Linked DNA regions of Homo sapiens: regions 2 and 3 are each linked to region 1. The links are contacts of gene promoters, found by promoter capture Hi-C in blood cells and fetal thymus (Javierre and others, 2016). All regions are on one chromosome and are shown on one strand. The core of a region is centred on a gene start or on the middle of the fragment in contact, and the rest is flanking DNA. Distances in the headings are between cores, read along the strand shown. Region 1 holds the start of FGFR1 (fibroblast growth factor receptor 1). Region 2 holds the start of BRF2 (BRF2 general transcription factor IIIB subunit). Region 3 overlaps RAB11FIP1 (RAB11 family interacting protein 1).

Region 1 (3,374 bases), core at 316-2,815:
GCCAGAGAAGCATACGCATCGCTGCCGAGTGAACCACACCGGACAAAAACCCTCATCCCTTCCCCCACCTCTAGGAACCAGATTGGGACCGAACGGTCCTTCCGCCCCCATCCCACACCTCGGCTTAACGACCGTGGGTTGTCCTCCCGTTCCCCAAACTTCCGACCCTTTCAGAGACCGTCCAAGTCATAAGATCACCCCTTCTGGAAAGGGGAGTCGTTTTTCGCTCTCAGCTCAAGCAGATTCAGCCATTTGGTGACGACACCTCCTTAAAACCTATTCCAAGAGAAGCTAACCTAGCCCTCCACGTCCTCCGCAGTTCATCTCCCACCCCATCCGACCCCAACCCGCACCCCAGGCTTTCCCGGGGGTGGAAAAGGACTTAGGAATGCCCCGGATTTTTAGCGTTGAGCCCAAAGCTACCTGCTGAATTGGGGGTGAATCCCCAAAAGGGGACCAAAAAGACATGGAGTGGAATGCAACACACACACATAACACACACAACGCATCCCACCTCGCCGCCCACTCCCGCCCTCCTCCCCAGTCCAGGAAACCGCGGGCCTCGCCGCCTTCGCCCCGGGCCTGTCCCTCCCGGGACTCACTGAGGAGCCGCCGCCGCCTCGCCAGCTCCCGAGCGCGAGTTGGAGGAAAAGTTGGGCGGCGGGAAGAGCGGCGGGACGAGCGCAGGGAGGGGGCGCAGGAGACGCGGACGGAGGGAAGGGAGGGGAGACCCAAGGGGCGCGGATCGCCCGGGAGGGAGCCAGGAGGTGAAAGGGGCGGGCGGCGAGCGGAGGGAGGCGCCGGCCCCGGCTGGGCTGCGGCGGGCAAAGCGCGCAGCCGGGAGGCTCCGGCGCCGGGGGCCGCTCGGGACGCCAAGCCCGCCCCAGATCCGGGGGCGCCGCGGCTCTTACCTCGCTCGGCGTGGAGGTTCCGCCTCGGGAGAGTCCGCCGTGGCTTGTGCGAGCGGGCGTGTGCCCGCGTCCCCGGCTCCGGCCCGCCGCCCCCGGGCTCTGTTCGGGTCCTGGCGGGGTCGCAAGAGCTCCGCGGCCGGCGCTCGACTCCCGGCGGCGCTCGGTGCTCGGCGCCTCCAGCCCGGGCGGGAACAATGGAGCCGGAGCTGGTGCCCCGGAGGCGGGGCGGGGGGAGGGCTCCCGTCCGCCACCCGGGGTCTCCAGACCTTGTGCCCCCCTCCTCCAGAACGCAGCGGCGGCGCCTCACTTTCCTTGCAGACCGGGCTCCATCGCCCTGCGGAGGCCCCGGCGCCGCGGCGTGCCCGACTGCAGCACGGGTACCGTGCGCCCTGCGGGGCGCCCCGAGCTCGGACCGGAGAAAAGTCCTTGGGTTCCGCGGCTTTTCAAGCAGCGGCGCGCTCGCGGCCGGGGAAGGCGAGGTCGCCGCAATGCGCTACGAGGGGTCTCGGTCCCGTCCGGACGTGGCCGCCCAGCTCCCGGCACACCCGGGTTCCTCCGCGCGCTGCGGCTGCACCGGCGTCCCGGCTCCCGCTAGCTGCCGCCCGCCGCCGAGGACGCCGCGCCTGTGGCCGCAAGAGCGCTCCGAGCGCTATGCGCCGGCGGGGCGCGAGGGCTCGCTCTCTCACTCCCACCCGCGCTGGTCCCTCCTCCGCCTCCGCCCCCTGCAGCTGCCTGCTGGGCCTTGTAGTTCCCCAGCCGCGGCCCCAAAGGACGGGGAGCGGGCCGAGCTGTCCGGCGCTCTGCCCTTCTCTTCCTACAGCCTGGTCTCCTTTGGCGTTTGCGCCCCTGCATCTGAGCACGTCCCAGAGGGCGCCGGAATGTCAGGCCCTAGACATAGCAGCGGTTTGGGGGCTAGGGGGCAGGTGAAGAGACGCCGCAGCCTTGAGGTTGTACCTGGTAGCGTGGGCTTTGGAGTCTGTGCGCCTTGGGGAAATGATTTTCGCGCTCTAAATCTCTGTTTTCCCATCTGTAAATGGGGGATAATAGTGCTTTTCACATAGAGTTGAGGCGTCAACGAGGGCCTAGCGCATAGTTAACACTTAGTAAATACAAGCCGGTTTTATTATAAGGTCAGCCCCTCCTCAAACCCTTCCCTTGGATTTCAGCTTTCCCCAGCCACATAATTTAGGTTTTGTGGTCCACCGGGAACTGGACCCTGTAAATTCTACAGCGATGCTGTTGGCTTCCAGAAGTCTCCAGCCTGCAGTGAATGTCTAGGAAGCAAAGAGTAAGCAGTGGGAGTTGAGGGGAGACGTGTGGTTGGTTTGGAAATTAATCACAGCCCACTCAGAACACCCTCCAGTACTGTGGAACACAGGAAAGTGGCTAAAATGCTTCCCCCTGAGTCTTCCCGCGAAGTGGTATAATGTAGTGGTTCCCTAATCCAGATGGACACGGGTCCTAGGGAACGTCTGAAAAATACAAGTTCATGGGCCTGCTCAGACATGAGGAATCACGCTGTCCCAGGAAGGAGCCAAGAGCCTTTATTTTTTCCAAGGCTCCTTGGGGCGTGTGATGTGAGCCCAGGCTGAGGCCACCATTGGGGTGGGAAGTAGGCAGCACTTGGTCTGAAGGATTCCTCCATTCTGTCCATCATTTATGAAGTTTGATGTAGGACAAATCATGCATCTGATAAAATCAAAACGGGGTATCTGTTGATACTCCTTCACAAGATGGTCATAAGAATCAAATAAAATAATAGCTCTCAGTGGACCAAAAATATTACACAAATGGAAGTCACTATGAAAGGTAGTGGCAGGGCCTGTTCCCTTACCATCACCCACCTCAACCCCGAAACTTGTAGAAGTTTGAATACTGAATGAGATCCCCCCACCCAACTCCTCACCCAACCCACCCACGCCTCCCTGGCTAATTTAAGAAAAGAGTTGGCCGGGTGCGGTGGCTTATGCCTGTAATCCCAGCACTTTGGGAGGCCGAGGCGGGTGGATCACGAGGTCGGGAGATCGAGACTATCCTTGCCAACAAGGTGAAACCCCGTCTCTACTAAAATACAAAAAAATTAGCCAGGCATGGTGGCGCTTGCCTGTAATCCCAGCTACTGGGGAGGCTGCGGCAGAGGAATCGCTTGAACCCGGGAGGCGGAGGTTGCAGTGAGCCGAGATTGTGCCACTGCACTCCAGCCTGGCAACAGAGCAAGACTCCGTCTCAAAAAAAAAAAGAAAAGAAAAGAAAAAATGGTCCTCGCGCTATTTTTCTAATCCACCAGTAGGTGACAGACTAGTGGCCAACACAGTGTTATTCACATAGTAGACACTCATGAAATCCCTTGACTGGCCAAAGAGCAAATATTCAATAAGTATTTGTTGAACAAATGAGTAAATAAACAACTAAATTACAGCTCACGCCTGTAATCCCAGCACTTTGGGTGGCCGAAGCGGGAGG
Region 2 (3,374 bases), core at 393-2,892, 620 kb before region 1:
GGATTACAGGCATGAGCCACCGCGCCCGGCTCATTATTATTTTTTTGAGATGGAGTCTCACTCTGTCACCCAGGCTGGAGTGCAGTGGCGCGATCTCAGCTCACTGCAACCTCCACCTCCCAGGTTCAAGCGATTCTCCTGCCTCAGCCTGCCAAGTAGCTGGGACTACAGGTACATGCCACCATGCCCAGCTAATTTTTGTATTTTTAGTAGAGACGGGGTTTCGCTATGTTTGCCAGGCTGGTCTTGAACTCCTGACCTCAGGTGATCCACCTGCCTAGGCCTCCCAAAGTGCTGGGATTACAGGCGTGAGCCACAGCACCTGGCCTAGGATAGTTTTCTTTAAAGCCACTGTGTTGTAAAAGGTCAATTCTCACCTCGTTGCTGGCTGCGACTAACTTGTTCGTTTTCCCCTGTGCTTCGGGAATATGTTACCTCTGTAAGATAATAAACAACAAATAGTGTGCTTAGCCTTTATTCATCAGACCCCTGCCCTCCCACCACACAAAACCAGGACGCAAAATTCAAATCATTGAGCATCTGCTGCTGCACAGTTAAAGGCCCCATCTGGTTTTCTATGTCTACAAGAGGTTCCGAATACACAGAGACTGGGAAAGGTTAGGACTGCATTAAAGCAGCTCCAAGTGTTCCAAATTTCCAGTCATCCTTCCAGTACATTCCATACAGGCAATTTTCCTAGCAGCAGATTTTGTTGTTGTTTGTTTAAGGAGTTTCCCTCTATAGTCCAGGCTGGAGCACAGTGGTGCGATCACAGCTCACGGCAGCCTTCAACTTCCAGGCTCAAGCAATCCTCCTACCTCAGATTCCTGGGTAGCTGGGATTACAGGTGTATGCCACCATACCTGGCTAATTAAAAAAAAATTTTTTTAGGCACTTGTCTCGTTACGTTACCAAGGCTGGTCTCGAGATCCTGGGCTCAAGCAATCCTCTCGGCTCTGCCTCCCAAAGCACTGGGATTACAGGCGTAAGCCACCCCACCCAGACAATGGCTGCAGATTTTGAGGGCTGCACTGGTCAGAAACTTGGAAAGCAAAGAAAAGTGATGTTTTGCCAGTTTGTGCTTAAAACTATTTCAGGGTAATAATACCTGCTATAATCGTATCGGCAATCCTTCCACAATGACCAGACATGGCAAGATGAGTGGAACTTTTGTTTCTGTCTCACTTATTCAATATTTATTACACGCACCATCTATGCCCGATACTAAGTGCTGGGAAAACACAGATGAATGGCAGCCCCCATCTCCTTCAGCTCCCTCGCTCACTTTAGGTCATTTTCTCTCAAATTAAGTGTGTGCGTTACAGTTAGGAGTATGGGGGGAGCGGGGAGGCAAAAGGAATCTGATGTTAATCCCTCCACCGCCCCAGGCTGTCCCCAGGGCCACAAGTACCTCGGAGATTGCCCTCGTCGCTGAAGGTAGTGGTAAGGACCCCCTCGGTGACCACGCAGCCGCAGTCGGAGCACACCAGCTGGCTCTGCGAATAGTGCGAGTCTTCCACCAGCTCCGTGGAGCCGCAGTCCGGGCAGCGGCCTCTGCCTGGCATCTCACAACCGGCCCCAAAGCCGCGGAAGCCTTCAGAGACTCCTGGGTCTGCAACAGCAACCGTGAGGCAGCAAGAAGTAGGAGGGGACACTTCAAAGGGTTGCACCCCCGTCTTCCGGCCAGCGCGACGGAGGCATAGGCGGTTCCCTCCGCTGGGAGGCTGCGCGCCACTTCCGGTCTGTGCCTCCGCGGGCTCGGGTAGAAACGTGAGCTAGGAGAGGAGGTTCCTGGGCTGAACTGTAGCTGTCTGGTTTCCCTGCACTCTGTAGTTAGTTTTTGGGACCTAGACTGGGGTTGAATTTGGGAAAGTTTTTGCCTACATGGACACGTATAACAGACAGAAGATTGTTGTCACCCCTGAACAACCCTCCTTTTAAAGTCCTAAGGGAATCGCAGGTTGGTAATGAATGTTTAATTGGCCATAGAAGAAAGTATATTTTTTAAAGGGAGAGTAGTGGAGAGAGAGCGGGAGCAGGAAACTGTGTTCTGCTTTCCAGAGCTGCTTCCTAAAGCAGATTCCTTCCTCTCTTTACCTCCTGTTTTTCTCAACTGTAAAATGAGGAAGTTGAAAAAAAAATCCAGAGATGCAAACCCAAACGCTTTTGGAGGCCAGGCAGGAATGTCTAAAGGAGTTTGGAGTGAAAGAATATGGAGTGATGGAGACCTGGAGCGGCGCAAGCACGCAGATTCAGATGTTTTTTAAAAAACCTTGAGCTATCTGGGCGTGGTGGCTCACGCCTGTAATCCCAGCACTTTGGAAGGCCGAGGCAGGTGGATCACCTGAGCTCGGGAGTTTGAGACCAGCCTGGGCAACATGGTGAAATCCCGTCTCTACTAAAAATACACAAAAATTAGCTGGGCGTGGTGGTGCACGTCTCTAATCCCAGCTACTCAGGAGGCTGAGGCAGGAGAATCGCTTGAACCCAGGAGGCGCAGGAGGCGCAGTGAGCCAAGATCGCGCCACTGCACTCCAGCCTGGGTGGCAGAGCGAGACTCCATCTCAAACAAAATAAAACATACCTTTAAGAAGTGTCACTCCCTTCTTTTCCACACCCAGTTTTTACACGTGATATCCAAACCTAAAGACACCATCCCTTCCCTAAGAGACTGCTTTCTCAGAGTGTGAGAATCACTACTCCTTTTCAGAGACATCCCGTCCATTCCCATGGGGATCGCTCACATTGGAGGGCCAAGAGACACAATAATACCCAACGGTCCTTTCTCTTCAATTTGAATTACTTTAGTATCATAACAGAAGGGGGCTTCAGCACATTAATCGTGGGTGGGATCCGGCAGTCCAAGCCCCCCCGCCTTTTCTAGACCTCCCCACTAGCGTGAGATACAGGATGAGAGCTTATTTCTGGCTGTCTGACAGTTAAATATTAAGATACATTTGCACATGCGCACCCGCACACACACACCACTCAGAGACATCCATTAGTTTTAGTGTGGTTGACATTCTTATTTGGATGAAGAAAGTGTCCCTGAAAGCGACATAACTTGCACTGGGAACAGTTCCTTGCATGATCACACAGCAGAGCATCAGACTCCCCTCATCCCCAGTTGTGTGCAGATCTTGAACCTACCTTCACTTTTTTTTTAAGCGGGACTTTACAGAGCCCATCTACCTAGGACAGAAGCCTTGAAATCCTGCCTGACCCAACCTGATTGATTGTAAAGTGGAAAAGCAGTTTTATGATCCTGCAGCCAGCCACGGAAGGAGAAAGCTGGTTGTCTTTCCCAGTCACACATGATGTACTTACTGGGAGCCTAGGAGAGCCTGGTCCTCGGGCACACACAGGCTGGGAGG
Region 3 (3,374 bases), core at 1-2,500, 590 kb before region 1:
CATCTTTTGTAACATAGAGAAAAGAGGGTTCAAATTTAAATTCTTTTTGAGAAACATTTAAGCTTCTCATTTAAATGTCCAAAGATGAAAGAAGAAAGGAAGGAAACTAACATAGCTTGCCATCAGTCATAAATCGTTGAGATTACTTAAAGGCCAGTATACAAAGTCATCAAGAAGAACTTAAAATGAATTCACAAAATACAGCAAGGAGAGGATAAAATTATATGAGCTATAATTTTGGACCCTTAGGAGACAAATCTTTTATGGTTTTTATAACCTCAATCCAGAGCTGGGCAGGCGGGGAGTGGTGGGTGTTGCAAGACGCAAGGTCTTTTTTTATTTTTTATTTTTTGCAACAGGGTCTCACTCTCTTGCCCAGGCTGGAGTGCAGTGGTGCGATCATAGCTCACTGCAGCCCTGGACTCCTGGGCTCAAGTGGAAAATGCAAGGTCTTTATAGACAATGTCACCCTTGCCAGCCTAGTGTCTGTCCAATACATTTTCCAGGGCCTGGCCTGGAATTGTCTGCATATTTGTCACTTCAATTTTGAGAGGATTATTTATATTTTTCTCTTCTGACAGTCATGTGGTAAATGGTAGCCTTGGTGATGAAGGGTGTTTAGCTTTTGTAAATACCAGTTGCAGGCACCTGAAAAGGAGAAGTTGCTGAACGCTAACTGAGGAGGTTTCGATGACCTCACCAACCGCAGGCGGGCAGCACGCTTCACCTCCCCGCCCAGGGCAGGAGCTTCAGGCAGGGGTTTCTCCACAGCTCTTCCACACGGGCCCTTCTATTAGCCCTCCACGGGGATGCACAAATGTGACAGGCCTCCAAAGCAGCTGTCAGAGGCATTCAAACCAGTGCAACTCCATCTTGAGTGAGGGCTAGGAAAATGAGGCTGGGACTTGCTGCGCTGCATTCCCAGAAAGTTAGGTATTCCTAGCCTCTAGATGTTTATGGGTAAGGGAACAGATGGATAATGTTTACCAAACAGACCCAGACTTGGGAGTGTTCTAATATCCCCAAATCTGGAGAACAAAGGCTATCCTAATTTTGCTTTGAAGCTAATAATATTGATTCTCACAAAATATAGTAATTAAGAAAATTAATCCTTTATCACAAACCCTTGTAGTAGGGCACATCTCTCAATGATCTTTTTATCCTGTGTATGAATAAGCATAGTGCCTAGAGTGGAGGTGTTCCTCCTCTTACTTTCGGGAACGTCCTACTCTGTCTATGGAGTAGCTGTACCTTCAATACTTTGCTTTCTTAATAAACTTGCTTTTACTTTGCACTGCAGACTTGCCCTGAATTCTTTCTTGCGGGAGACCAAACACTCTCTTTTGGGGTCTGGATCAGGACCCCTTTCCTGTAACATAGCCAGTTGACAATTCCAAGGGCCAGCCTTGCCTTTCCGAAAGTATCAGTGAGGTTTTCTTTGCACTTCCTAATGGTTTTTGAGCAAAACTACAACCGATTCCAGAATCCTCCCTCGGGACCAATTATTACCTGATTCTCAGGTCCAATCCCTGGGTCCTAAAGTGGGATTTGCTTTGGAAACTTCCAACACCATTAGGAAGTGCAAATATAAACGTCACCAACTGTTCTTGCTGCTTAATTTCACAAGCAAACCTAAAGCCAAACACCAGGTAGCCAGGCACCAGCCACGGGGCTATTGAAGGATATGAAACAGGCTGAATCACAGGCCAGCAGGGAAACAGCCCAGGCAAAGAGGCAGAATTTACAAATCTGTGCTCCATGTATTAAAGCTGGAAAGCAAAACAAGAATTGTTTCGTTTTTTTTTTTTTCTGGTTTTTTTTTCTTGGTGTTTGTTTGTTTGTCTGTTTGTTTTAGAGACTGAGTCTCACTCTATCGCCCAGGCTGGAGTGCAGTGACGTGATCTCAGCTCACTGCAACCTCCTCCTCCTGGGTTCAACCGATTCTCCTGCCTCAGCTTGCTGAGTAGCTGGGATTACAGGCGTGCGCAACTATGCCCAACTAATTTTATGTTGGCCAGGCTGGTCTCAAACTCTTGACCTCAGGTGATCCGCCTGCCTCAGCCTCCCCAAGTGTTGGGATTACAGGCGTGAGCCACTGTGCCCAGCCAAGAATTGTTTCTTTTACTAGCAATATTATCCTCAAATTCAAAAACAGTTTAAGCAAGGGATGTTTGATAGAAGCATACTTTGATAAGACAGTGAAAGCCACAGTGCTTGAATATCTTGCCCTAAGAAATCCCAAACCAGAAGAACACATCTGGGGATTTTTATATTTAAGATCAACCCAGTTTCTAAGTGTTACTGCCCATGTGTTTTTCAGTTCACTTAATTCCTGCACCTCACAGAAGTAGCTCATAAATAATAAAGTCCCAGCCTAGCAACACAGCATGTGATGGCAGCGTGGGTGTGTTCCAGTATTATCTTTCACGTAGGCCCTGAAAGCTTGAATTATCTCAGAAATCAGGGTTGGGTCCATTTCCCTAGTCCAAAGGGCAGAAAAAGAGAGCCATAATCCCAATGTAGCAAGTTTATTTTTAAGCCCATATTCTGAAAAAATCTTGCCACCTATCAAAAGTAAAAATCAAATGATCCCTTCAATAAACAAATTATTATTGCTTATCATTAAACTCAGTCCTGCAAGAATTAAAAGGATCTCTGGATATGTAGAAAGTGACATAATTTTATTTATTTATTTATTTATTTATTTATTTTTGAGACAGAGTCTCATTCTATTGTCTATTGCCCAGGCTGGAGTACAGTGGCATGATCTCAGCTCACTGCAACCACCGTCGCCCAGGTTCAAGTGATTCTCCTCCCTCAGCCTCCCGAGTAGCTGGGAGTACAGGCGCACACCACTGCATCCGGCTAATTTTTGTATTTTTACTAGAGACAGGGTTTCACCATCTTGGCCAGGCTGGTATCGAACTCCTGACCTCATGATCCACCTGCTTCGGCCTCCCAAAGTGCTGGGAATACAGGCGTGAGCTACCACACCCGGCCAACATAAAATTTCTATAAACTATATACACACACATATATATTTTGAGATGGGGTCTTGCTCTGTTGTCCAGGCTGGAGTACAGTGCACATTCATAGCTCACAGCAGCTTCAAAGTTCTAGGCTCAAGCCATCCTCCCACCTCAGCCTCTTGAGGAGCTGGGACTAAAAGCATGTGCCACCACACCCAACTAGTTGTTGTTGTTGTTGAGACAGTCTTGCTCTGTTGCCCAGGCTGGAGTACAGTGGCATGATCTCGGCTTACTGCAACCTCCACCTCCCGGGTTCAAGCAATTCTCATGCCTCAGCCTCCAGAGTAGTTGGTATTACAGGCAAATACCATCATGCCCAGCTAATTTTTGTATTTTTAGTAGAGA

The links. Contacts are between HindIII fragments. The CHiCAGO score rates a contact against its expected background, and 5 or more counts as called.
Region 2: the fragment with the promoter of BRF2 here is called in contact with the fragment with the promoter of FGFR1 in region 1 in 10 of 17 cell types (non-activated CD4 T cells, activated CD4 T cells, naive CD4 T cells and 7 more); the score reaches 14.6 in non-activated CD4 T cells.
Region 3: a contact is called between a fragment that was not itself captured here and the fragment with the promoter of FGFR1 in region 1, in 1 of 17 cell types (naive CD8 T cells). The highest score is 5.5, in naive CD8 T cells.

What each region holds. Positions count from the first base shown.
Region 1 is chr8:38,467,070-38,470,443 of GRCh38, forward strand. It overlaps FGFR1 (fibroblast growth factor receptor 1), which reads right to left and starts at 1,566. Exons shown (of 18, transcript NM_023110.3): 1 at 912-1,566. RefSeq lists silencers at 849-968, 979-1,108, 1,379-1,448 and enhancers at 1,306-2,292, 1,729-1,898. The HindIII fragment of the contact is 10,295 bases long and covers 1-3,374 here.
Region 2 is chr8:37,848,219-37,851,592 of GRCh38, forward strand. It overlaps BRF2 (BRF2 general transcription factor IIIB subunit), which reads right to left and starts at 1,643. Exons shown (of 4, transcript NM_018310.4): 1 at 1,412-1,643; 2 at 378-437. The coding sequence starts at 1,565. RefSeq lists enhancers at 1,319-1,458, 1,499-1,848. The HindIII fragment of the contact is 8,285 bases long and covers 1-3,374 here.
Region 3 is chr8:37,881,363-37,884,736 of GRCh38, forward strand. The region is part of intron 1 of RAB11FIP1 (RAB11 family interacting protein 1); the gene reads right to left. Among named protein-coding and RNA genes, the nearest start is that of RAB11FIP1, 16 kb to the right of the region's middle. RefSeq lists enhancers at 1-65, 463-572, 1,981-2,100. The HindIII fragment of the contact is 2,380 bases long and covers 61-2,440 here.